Linked DNA regions of Homo sapiens: region 1 is linked to region 2. Evidence: promoter capture Hi-C in 16 types of primary human blood cells and fetal thymus (Javierre and others, 2016). All regions are on one chromosome and are shown on one strand. Each heading gives the region's core, a stretch centred on a gene start or on the middle of the fragment in contact. The rest is flanking DNA. Distances are from core to core; before and after follow the strand shown.

Evidence for each region. Contacts are between HindIII fragments. The CHiCAGO score rates a contact against its expected background, and 5 or more counts as called.
Region 1: a contact is called between a fragment that was not itself captured here and the fragment with the promoter of PSIP1 in region 2, in 2 of 17 cell types (total B cells and non-activated CD4 T cells). The highest score is 10.8, in total B cells.

Annotation. Positions count from the first base shown.
Region 1 is chr9:26,891,251-26,895,660 of GRCh38, forward strand. CAAP1 (caspase activity and apoptosis inhibitor 1) reads right to left here and starts at 1,552. Exons shown (of 6, transcript NM_024828.4): 1 at 1,163-1,552. The coding sequence starts at 1,465. RefSeq lists enhancers at 951-1,530, 1,102-1,281, 1,362-1,581, 1,531-2,110, 1,712-1,781. The HindIII fragment of the contact is 207 bases long and covers 2,017-2,223 here.
Region 2 is chr9:15,509,270-15,513,853 of GRCh38, forward strand. It overlaps PSIP1 (PC4 and SRSF1 interacting protein 1), which reads right to left and starts at 1,701. Exons shown (of 16, transcript NM_033222.5): 1 at 1,548-1,701; 2 at 848-1,060. The coding sequence starts at 919. RefSeq lists enhancers at 814-1,767, 1,768-2,720, 3,373-3,991 and silencers at 827-1,026, 1,127-1,176, 1,307-1,366, 1,377-1,586, 1,607-1,686. The HindIII fragment of the contact is 3,241 bases long and covers 1-2,942 here.

The DNA of each region.
Region 1 (4,410 bases), core at 870-3,369, about 11 Mb after region 2:
ATATTAAAATGTTCAATCTCACTAATAAGGAAAATAAAAATTAAAACAAACTATTAATTTGACCCACTAGTCTGGCAATTTTTTTAAAAAATGCCATCAAAATGTCATCAAAAGCTAGTTAAGAATCTCAGAAATAGGTATTCTTATATATATACTGTTTGGACTATAAATCTGTAAAGTCTCATTTGGAAAGCATTTGGTGGCATTCATAAGTTTTTAATAGCATAAACTTTGACCCAGGAATTTCAGTTCTCACACTCTCTCCCAACATAACTCTTGTAGGAGATATATACATAAAGGTGTTTGTATTGTAGTCACAACAATACAAAAAAACCTGCACACCCAAATATCAGAAAAATATAATACAATACCAGGCAGTCAGTAAAAATAACAAACCACGTATATAAAGAAGCCTATCACAACAATGCAGGTATTCAACAGCGGGAATAACACAATACAGCTTAAGTGTAGGAACTTAAAAACACGTATCTCACGAGGAGTGATTAAAAGAGGCCGCGTATCAAAATACTAATGGAGGGGCAAGAAAAGGGACTTGACGCTTTCCCTTTATTTCCTCATTGAATGAATTTAAAGTACCTATTCATTCATTTGTTTTCAAACAAATTATGAACTTTTTTAAAACGGCGTTCTCTTGGCAGACTGGTGGCGTATAAAGAACATGGCTTTTGTAGTCAGATATTTGGATTCAAACCTAGGAGCTATTAACAAACTCTGTGACCGTGGGTAAAGTTTAACTTCTTTGGGCCTCAATTTTCTTATCTCTAATGCGGAGTTAACCATATCTACGAAAAGGTGAAGACGAAGGGAGAAGTGTTTGGCTCGCAAGGGAAATGAAGGCTAGCTTCCAACTCGTATTCTTCCGGCAGAGTGAAACCATAGGAGTGGAAGGAGCCAAGAGTTTAAAAAATAAATTAAAAAAAAAGTGATCAGGAAATCCAGAAACTTGAAGTTCAAGATTCAAGACACGGATGGGAGTGTGGGGCTCACCAGGACTTAGGTAGGAACATGAACCTCAAGGACGGACGACCTTGAGATTGCCGCGCTAGCAGTGAGCTCCAGCCTGCGCCCCATCCCTCTGGAAGCCCGACTTCTTCCGAAAAAGCAGCAGCTCCAGGAAGCGGCCAGAGGGGCGCGCACGCACCTGCTGCAAGGAGCCCGAGACGCTGGAAGAGTCGGTACTCCTCCGCTTCCGGCGCTCGCTGCGCTCCACGCTGCTCCCGCCCCAACAGCTGCCGCCGCTCCCACCGCCGGTGACACTTCCACTAAAATTGGCGTTCCCACAGCAGCTGACGCTCCCGCAGCCCCCGGCGCTCCCGCAGCCGCTAGTGCTTCCACTGCTGCCGCTGGCCAACGCGGGTACGATGTCCGGGGCCGCGAGCGCTGCGGCCGCCTCCTGACTGCTACGTTTGCGCCGTTTCTCCCGGGAGGACTTTTTCCCCGTCATGATCCCTCTGCTGCAACCATCGGAGGAAAGTCCGCTGTCTCTGGTGCGACCGAAGCCCGACTCCTGCGGCCGTGGGCGGCAGGCACTGGCGTCGCAGGTTATGCGTCACTTCCGGCCGTGGCACAGAACGTGGTGAAGCGTTATGGGCCGGGGTGGCAGGGGGGTTGCCATAACCAGTTGCGCTTCCCCCTCCGGTCGCGGAGGTCGATTTGAGTGTGTAGCGGGTAGCCTGTCTAGTCAGAGTTTGTTTTGTTTTGTTTTTATATCTCTACAAAGGATAGAAGGTGGAACTTACGTCCTTTTAACTTCAAAACTTTTTATTGTTAGTGTTTTGTCTGTTTACAATAAGGTTGAAGTATAGTTGCTGATTCTCCATTTCCGTTTACCTCCAAATCTTAAGATATTAACAACGCTATGACAATAAAGAGAATAGGGAAAAGTTGTTCCATCTCATTTTCCTCATCACCTGGGCAAATTAGGTATTTCTTGCGTAGAGTCTGACATGGACAAGTAGAGCTTGAGTTCGTTTTTGAAAATTGAGAATGGGTCAAAGCTTTATGAGATTTTATGGGTGGATGTAATCTAAATAGAAGGCAGATTTTAAGACAAGGGAGCTAGAACACTTAAAACGTGAACCAAGGTCTTTGTCGTTTCAGCAGGGGCCTTTAGCCACTGAGGGAAAAAGGTAGAGCCTGGGGCAAAGCTAGCTGGGTGGTAGTAATTCTGTGCCTTTCCCTGGGGTAAGAAGCAATTAAAGAAGCTTCCCTTCTCTTTGTCTCCTATTTGTCTCAGTCATTCAACAACTACTTAAATGCCTAAAACCAGCCTAGGGTTAATAAATAGGGACACTTCCAGCCCTAGGAAAACTGTCTTCCCCCAGGCCCCACTCTTAAATTGGCCTTGTAAGGTAAATCCTGGGGCTGAGCCCACTGTGTTCCCAGGAGTTCCGTTAAGTATCACACTCATTGGAGTCATACCTGAAAGGATTGAGAGTGTTGTGTTCACAGATAGGAAAAACACATAAAATTAATAACATGTTACATTTATAAACCTGTTATGAATTGTGTCCCTGAAACCATCATAATTTTAATAAAACTAAATTGCTAGATTTTTTCTTTTTTCTTTTTTTTTTTTTTGAGACGGAGTTTCACTCTCGTTGCCCAGGCTGGAGTGCAATGGCACAATCTCGGCTCACTGCAACCTCCGCCTCCCGGGTTCAAGCATTTCTCCTGCCTCAGCCTCCTGAGTAGCTGGGACTACAGGCATGCGCCACCATGCAGGGCTAATTTTGTATTTTTAGTAGACAAGGGGTTTCTCCATGTTGGTCAGGCTGGTCTCGAACTCCCGACCTCAGGTGATCCACCCGCCTCAGCCTCCCAAAGTGCTGGGATTACAGGCGTGAGCCATCGTGCCCTGCCAAATTGCTGGATTTGTGACAAAAGATAAGCTTTTAGTAGAAGCATAGCTAAACGTTAACCAACTTTTCCTATAGCCCACTTCCTTATAGCTGCTTATTGCTTTATAGATATCTTTGACTCGGTTAAGAAATCTCAAGTTTTCCATTTTGAGATATTTACCAGATTCTGTACTCCAATGGTGTTACAGAAGTTAAGAAATTATTTTAGGCAGATAGAGAGGTAAAGGGGTCTTTGGGAAGTTTTTTTTCTTTTAAAGCAGCTCCAGAAATGTTTCTTGTCTAGCAAAAAAGCTGGGCTGGCAAGCTATGATATGCAAATGCAGGCCGTTAGAAACTGGGTTTACTCAGTATGGCGATTCCCCTCTTCTTCTTGTCCCCACATGTGCCTAGCAACATGGCCATCCCCACATATCCCCACATGTGTAGAACATTGTGGCACCCTACATTCGCATATTAAAAGGCTAGGGTGGGAGGGCCACTTTTTTTGCAGGCTACGTGAATGACATACCTGGTCAAACCAATTCCCTGGGTCATATGCAAATTAGTCACCACCTCCTCCAGCCTCATAATATAACTGGCTCTTGTCTGCTGCACCCAAGGTTCCCTCTTTCATCTGGGAGCCCTCTTCCCTCTGGTTCTGTATGAGGGAGCCTCTTCTTTCTTGCCTATTAAATTCTCCGCTCCTTAAAACAATTCCACTTGTGTCTGTATCGTTTTATTTAAACCAGCACGAGACAAAAGACTGTGGTGTTCCTCCAGTCATTGGAACCATATCAGTGGGGTCACTGATGCTACTCAGTCTGAAGACCCCTTCTGAGAAACGAACTCAGCACAAGAATGCACTTTCTACCTCCTTATGATTACATCCCCCATGCCCTAACCAATCAGCAACCCCTAGCTCCTCAGCCCCCTACCCACCAAAATTCCCTTAAAAACCCCTGTCCAAAAACTTACTGGGGAGGTGATTTGAGGTTCCCTCCCATCTTCTCCCTTGGCTGGCATACCATTATTAAACTCTTTCTCTGCTGCAACTCCTGCTGTTTCCATGTATTGGTCTGGTACCATGTAGTGGTTAATAGAACCTGATGGTCCTATAACATCACCCACAGAATTCATATGTTGAATCCCTAACCCCAATGTGACTGAATTTGGAGATAGGGTCATTAAGGAGGTAATTAAGGTTAAATGAAGTCATAAGGGTGGGTCCCTAATCTAATATAACTGGTGTCCTTATTAAAAGAAGAGTCTGGGCCAGGCATGGTGGCTCACGCCTGTAATCCCAGTGCTTTAGGAGGCCGAGGCGGGTGGATCATGAGGAAGATGGAAACCATCCTGGCTAACACGGTGAAACCCCGTCTCTACTAAAAATACAAAAACAAAATTAGCTGGGCGTGGTGGCAGGCGCCTGTAGTCCCAGCTACTCAGGAGGCTGAGGCAAGAGAATGGCGTGAACCCAGGAGGTGGAGCTTGCAGTGAGCCAAGATCGCACCACTGCACTCCAGCCTGGGCGACAGAGCAAGACTCCGTC
Region 2 (4,584 bases), core at 451-2,950:
TAATTGATTGCAACATATCTTAGGTCCTATCTATCTCTGTTTGAGAGCCTGGGTACCACCATAAACAAAAAGAACCCTTTTTCTAAAAATGGAGCGTAGATCTTTAAACAGTCTCAATTCCTCAATGTCACAAAACATCCTGGGTCCTTAATCATTTCTCTGTACCACTAGATGTGAACTGAGGAATCTGGTCCACACCTCCTTTTTGCCTATTGGAAACAAAAAGGTAAAACAACTTCTTCAAGGTCATAAACATCTCAAATAAAAAAGGAGAAATGAATTTTCTGGCCCTTCCTCGGTACTAAACTACTGTAATACTTTCAAGAATATCCAGTCCTGAATCTGTATTAAACAAGCAAATCCAGAAGGCCTCATCAAGTACAAGGTATTTTTTTTAAAACCCTGTAAATCCAATTTAATCACATACGCACTTCTCTGACATCCAAGTGTTTGTGTGTAATCTGCACAAATTCCATTGATATTTTGTACTTGATCCAAAACTATGGAAATGTCAATGTTTCACTAATTTTTAAACAAAAATTCACTCTTCATTATTTCACCTACAATGGAATATTAACTAGCAACGCATTTAAATATTTCCTAGGAAGAAAATCTGTCCAAGTCTGCCAATAAACCATAGGGAAATACACAGGTATGTAGAAACGTCTGGATTTTCATAATTACACGGGAGATTATTGGGCAAAAAACTAAAATGAAAGGTCAGGTTACAAATGAGACTAAAGCGAGGGAGAGAAAGGACAGAAGAAAAAATAAAGAGACACGGTGGGCAGCAGGCCTCTGGAGAGGAGGGTAGCACTGCTAAGCGCGAGGGCTACAAATCACTTACTCGAGCTGGCCAATGGGGATAACCTTTCATCTTGGCGAAGATGAGGTCTCCAGGTTTGAAATCGCGAGTCATGTTTCGGGGGCGAGACCGGGGGTCCGAAGCCCGGGAGGCGGCGAGGAGATGCGGCGGCGCGGGGATGCGGGCGGCGGACGCGGGCCCAGCTACCGGGCCCGCGGGCGGGGGAGGATGCCTCGGGGCGTCCCGACGCGCCTGCTAGGGAGAGCACCGAGGGCGGTTAAAGCGAAGAACCCCGAAGGGAGGGGCCGCAAGGGGAGGGGGAGGGGAACCGGCGGGTGGGGGTGGGAGAGCGAGGGGACGGCCGCCTCCCGCTCCTCCCCCGCCAGTGCGCTGCCTCCGCGCTGGAGCAGGTCCTCCACCCCGCCACCGAAGAGACGCCACCACCTGAAGCAGGGATGCTGCCCGGCCAGAAATCGCCCGTCTGCCCGCCCCATCTTTCTCCGGGCTTTTTCCACCGAGCTTAAGCCCCAAAAGGGAGGGGGTGCATGGGAGAGAAAAAGGCAGGGATTCCGAGAAGCGAGCGGCCCCCTTCCGCCCACGCAAGGCCTCCCCCGCAACCTGCTGCCCAGCGGCTGCAGCCTCGGCCCCCTCGGCTCCCGGGCGGGCCGCGTCCACTTCCCCGCTACAGCCAGGAGCGACGCCACCGAGGGGGGGGCGGGGCGAGTCCCCGTCGCCCGCTCACCTGCCGGGGCCGCGGGCGCCGACGCTGCGGTTGCTGGCCGGTCGCCTCTACCCGCGTCCACGCAAGCCACCTGCGCCACCAGCTGCCGCAGAGGCGTCTCAACGGCTCGGAATCGCAACCGCGCCGCCGCTGCCGCCGCCGTAGCTGCGCTGCTCCCGCGCGGCTCCCGCTCGGCGCCCGCTAGCACTGGGGCGCGACCAACTGTTTACCGAGAGAGGGGGGATGTTGCAGCACCCGGCGAAGCTGTGTGGCTCCGAAGCGGATTTTCTGGAAACCCTACGTCCCCAAGTTCGCTTTCATGTAACAGGTGCATGCAGATGGAGAGGAAGACGCAAGCGAAGAAGAAAGGACTGGGCGAAAATAGCTCGGCCTGCCGCAAGTTCCCCCTGCGGTTTGCGGAGTGGTCGGGCCCGGCCCGCCCCTGCTGGCTTCTCTGCGTGTGTGTATTTGTATGTGTACTGTATGTAAAAGGCGGGGAGGGAGGAAATGATTGTTGTGGACGCGGTTTTGGGGGCGGGTATCCGGGCCTCTCTCCCTTGGCTGCGTGTTAGGGAGAAAGTGGCAGTAAAGATTCATGTTCTTGTATCGTTTCCAGGGTGGGGAGGTTTGAATGCTGCTTTTGCGCGGTTTGCATCATCCAAAAAAGAGGAGCTGTACGAAAACCCTAAGATGAAATTGGAGCATGCGGCGGTTGCAGGGTGTGCTGCATCTAGGCCTCTTGCACCTCGCTGAATGGGCCTCGTAGTCTCCTTTTCCTTGAAATTGTAGTATGAGAGAGCCCTATTTCATTTCTTTTGCATTTGCATCACCAAGAACTATTAAGAAAAATGCAACCCTACTGAATGCAAAATGCGAAGGGTAGAAAACAATGACAGGAAAACAGAAACCTTTTAGATAGGATGTGAGTTTGGGCCCTAACTAAATTTTAGCTGCATCTAAATTTTATTTCCCTAGTAGAATAGGAGCTGGTAGGTGGTACAATGTGTAAGTGTTACTAAACCTCAAATATTTTCTCTCTTAAAATGCTCTTCAAGGGATTTTAAAGGTTAATTTTTTGATCCTTTAGAGAGGCTGAAAATATTTTTAAAAAGAATGTTAAGACATATAAAAATAAGAATAATAAGACATATATTAGCACCTAGATAATACTGTTTTAAATACGGGACTCAACTGGAAATGAATTAGGAAATTTTTTTTGAATTGGTAAAAATTGAGAATTTTTTGAAAGCGATACAGCATGTCTTTAAAAAGGAATGAAAGAAGACAGTCCCAAAGTAAAATGTCCTGTAAGGAGTTTCGAGAAACTAAGTATACCTGGGCAATATGCAGAGAGTTCCAAGTGGAGCAAAAAGAGAAATTGGCAGAGGAGAAGGAAGGGTTGGTGAAATGTCTTGAAGCTTCTCATTCTGAATATGAATTTAATGTGTGTAGTAGGAAGCTACTATAGGTTGCTCAGCAAGAAGGGGGTAAAAATGATTATTTAACCAGTTCTTGATGTTTCAAGGTAGATGTTAGTAGAAAGAGGCTGGGGGTAACTGGAGTACTCATGAAATGACGCATTTCTCAGTGAGAATGGTGACTAAGAAAAGGGAAGGAAGAGCACAACTAAGTAATTACACAAAGGAATGATTGTCAGGTGTTGGCTATAAATTATGCATAGGAAAAGGTGGAAAAAGATGTATTGAAGAAAAGCTCAAGATACAGAGTAAGAGAGACCAAAGCAGCATCCAGCAATCATTTTTTTGTGTGTATGCACTTTATTTGTTCTAAACCCTGTAAGGCCTTGCTACTTCAAGTGTGGTCCAAGGCCCAGCAGCAAGGGCTTTACCTGGGAGCTCAGGTAAAGCTCAGACCTTCCCCAGGCCTTCTAAATCATAATCTGCGTTTTAACAGGATCCCTAGGTGATTCTTACGCATATTCAAGTTTGAGAAACTGCTTTAGAGGATACCTCAGACTGTAAAAACTTCAAACTAAGAAAAACAGATATATAACAAGTTATAATTAACGTTAAAGATAACTTTTTATTAGTACTAATGGTAGGATTAACAGGTAAAGAGGGGGTAGTTAGTGTTAGAGGGGACCTCAGAAAAGAAATAAAAAAGGGAAAATGGAAAAGCATTGATGTTTTACTATTAGTATTTTCTGTTGTTTTTGTTGTTTTAAAAAAAGGAAGTACCATACTTAGCTCCTGCTGCCTTTAAGTTTTGTCCGCTTCAACCTGTGGTAGTTTGTGAACAACAGGAGATACCCTTTAAACAATAAAGGCAAAACAGGTGGTGGTTTAAGCTTCCAGAGAACAAAAGCCCAGGATCCCTGGGAGCAACAGTTCTGAATCTGCGAGGAAAGGGGGGGGGAGGGGAGGGGAGGGGAGGGCAGGGAACGGGGAAGGAAAGCTGGGCACATCCTAGCCACTTGGGAGAGCTTTTCTGTGCTCTTTTCCAGCTATGCTTGGTGCAGCCCTCTCCCATAGTCAGCCTTCTTAGTGGGGATACTTGAAAAAGTATACCAAAATGGAGATCAGAGGAGCAATGGGAAAGTTATAAGGAGAAAGAGTGTAATTTCCAAAACAACTGAAGCAAGGGGAGGGGGCAGGAAAATCCAAATGAGTTGAGGCAGGAACTTGGCCTACATTATCTCATTTAACCCAAGTGCCACTATCCCCATTTCACAGATGAGAAAATAAGCTCACAGAAGGTAAGCAGCTAGCTTGCCCAAGATCACACATCTAGTCCAGGGGCTGAGGCAACATTCTAGCCCCTCTGGCTACTTGCCCATGCCATTTTTGTGATCCCACATCGCCTCTAGGTGGGGCAGGGAGGCAGCAAGGCTGAAGGAGGAGTGGCTTATAATTAGAAAAGATGCTGGAAGGAAAAGCAGCCCAGTACTTACTCTTCCACCTTCCACCTTTGGGCTTGAAAGTATTCCCAGCTTCAAATTTCCTAACAACCTCCCTCCACACCATGCCATTCCCCAGCTTGTCCCCAGCACGAGACCATTCTGTTTAACTCCTTCTGGTCCTAAAAAACTCAACCCAAA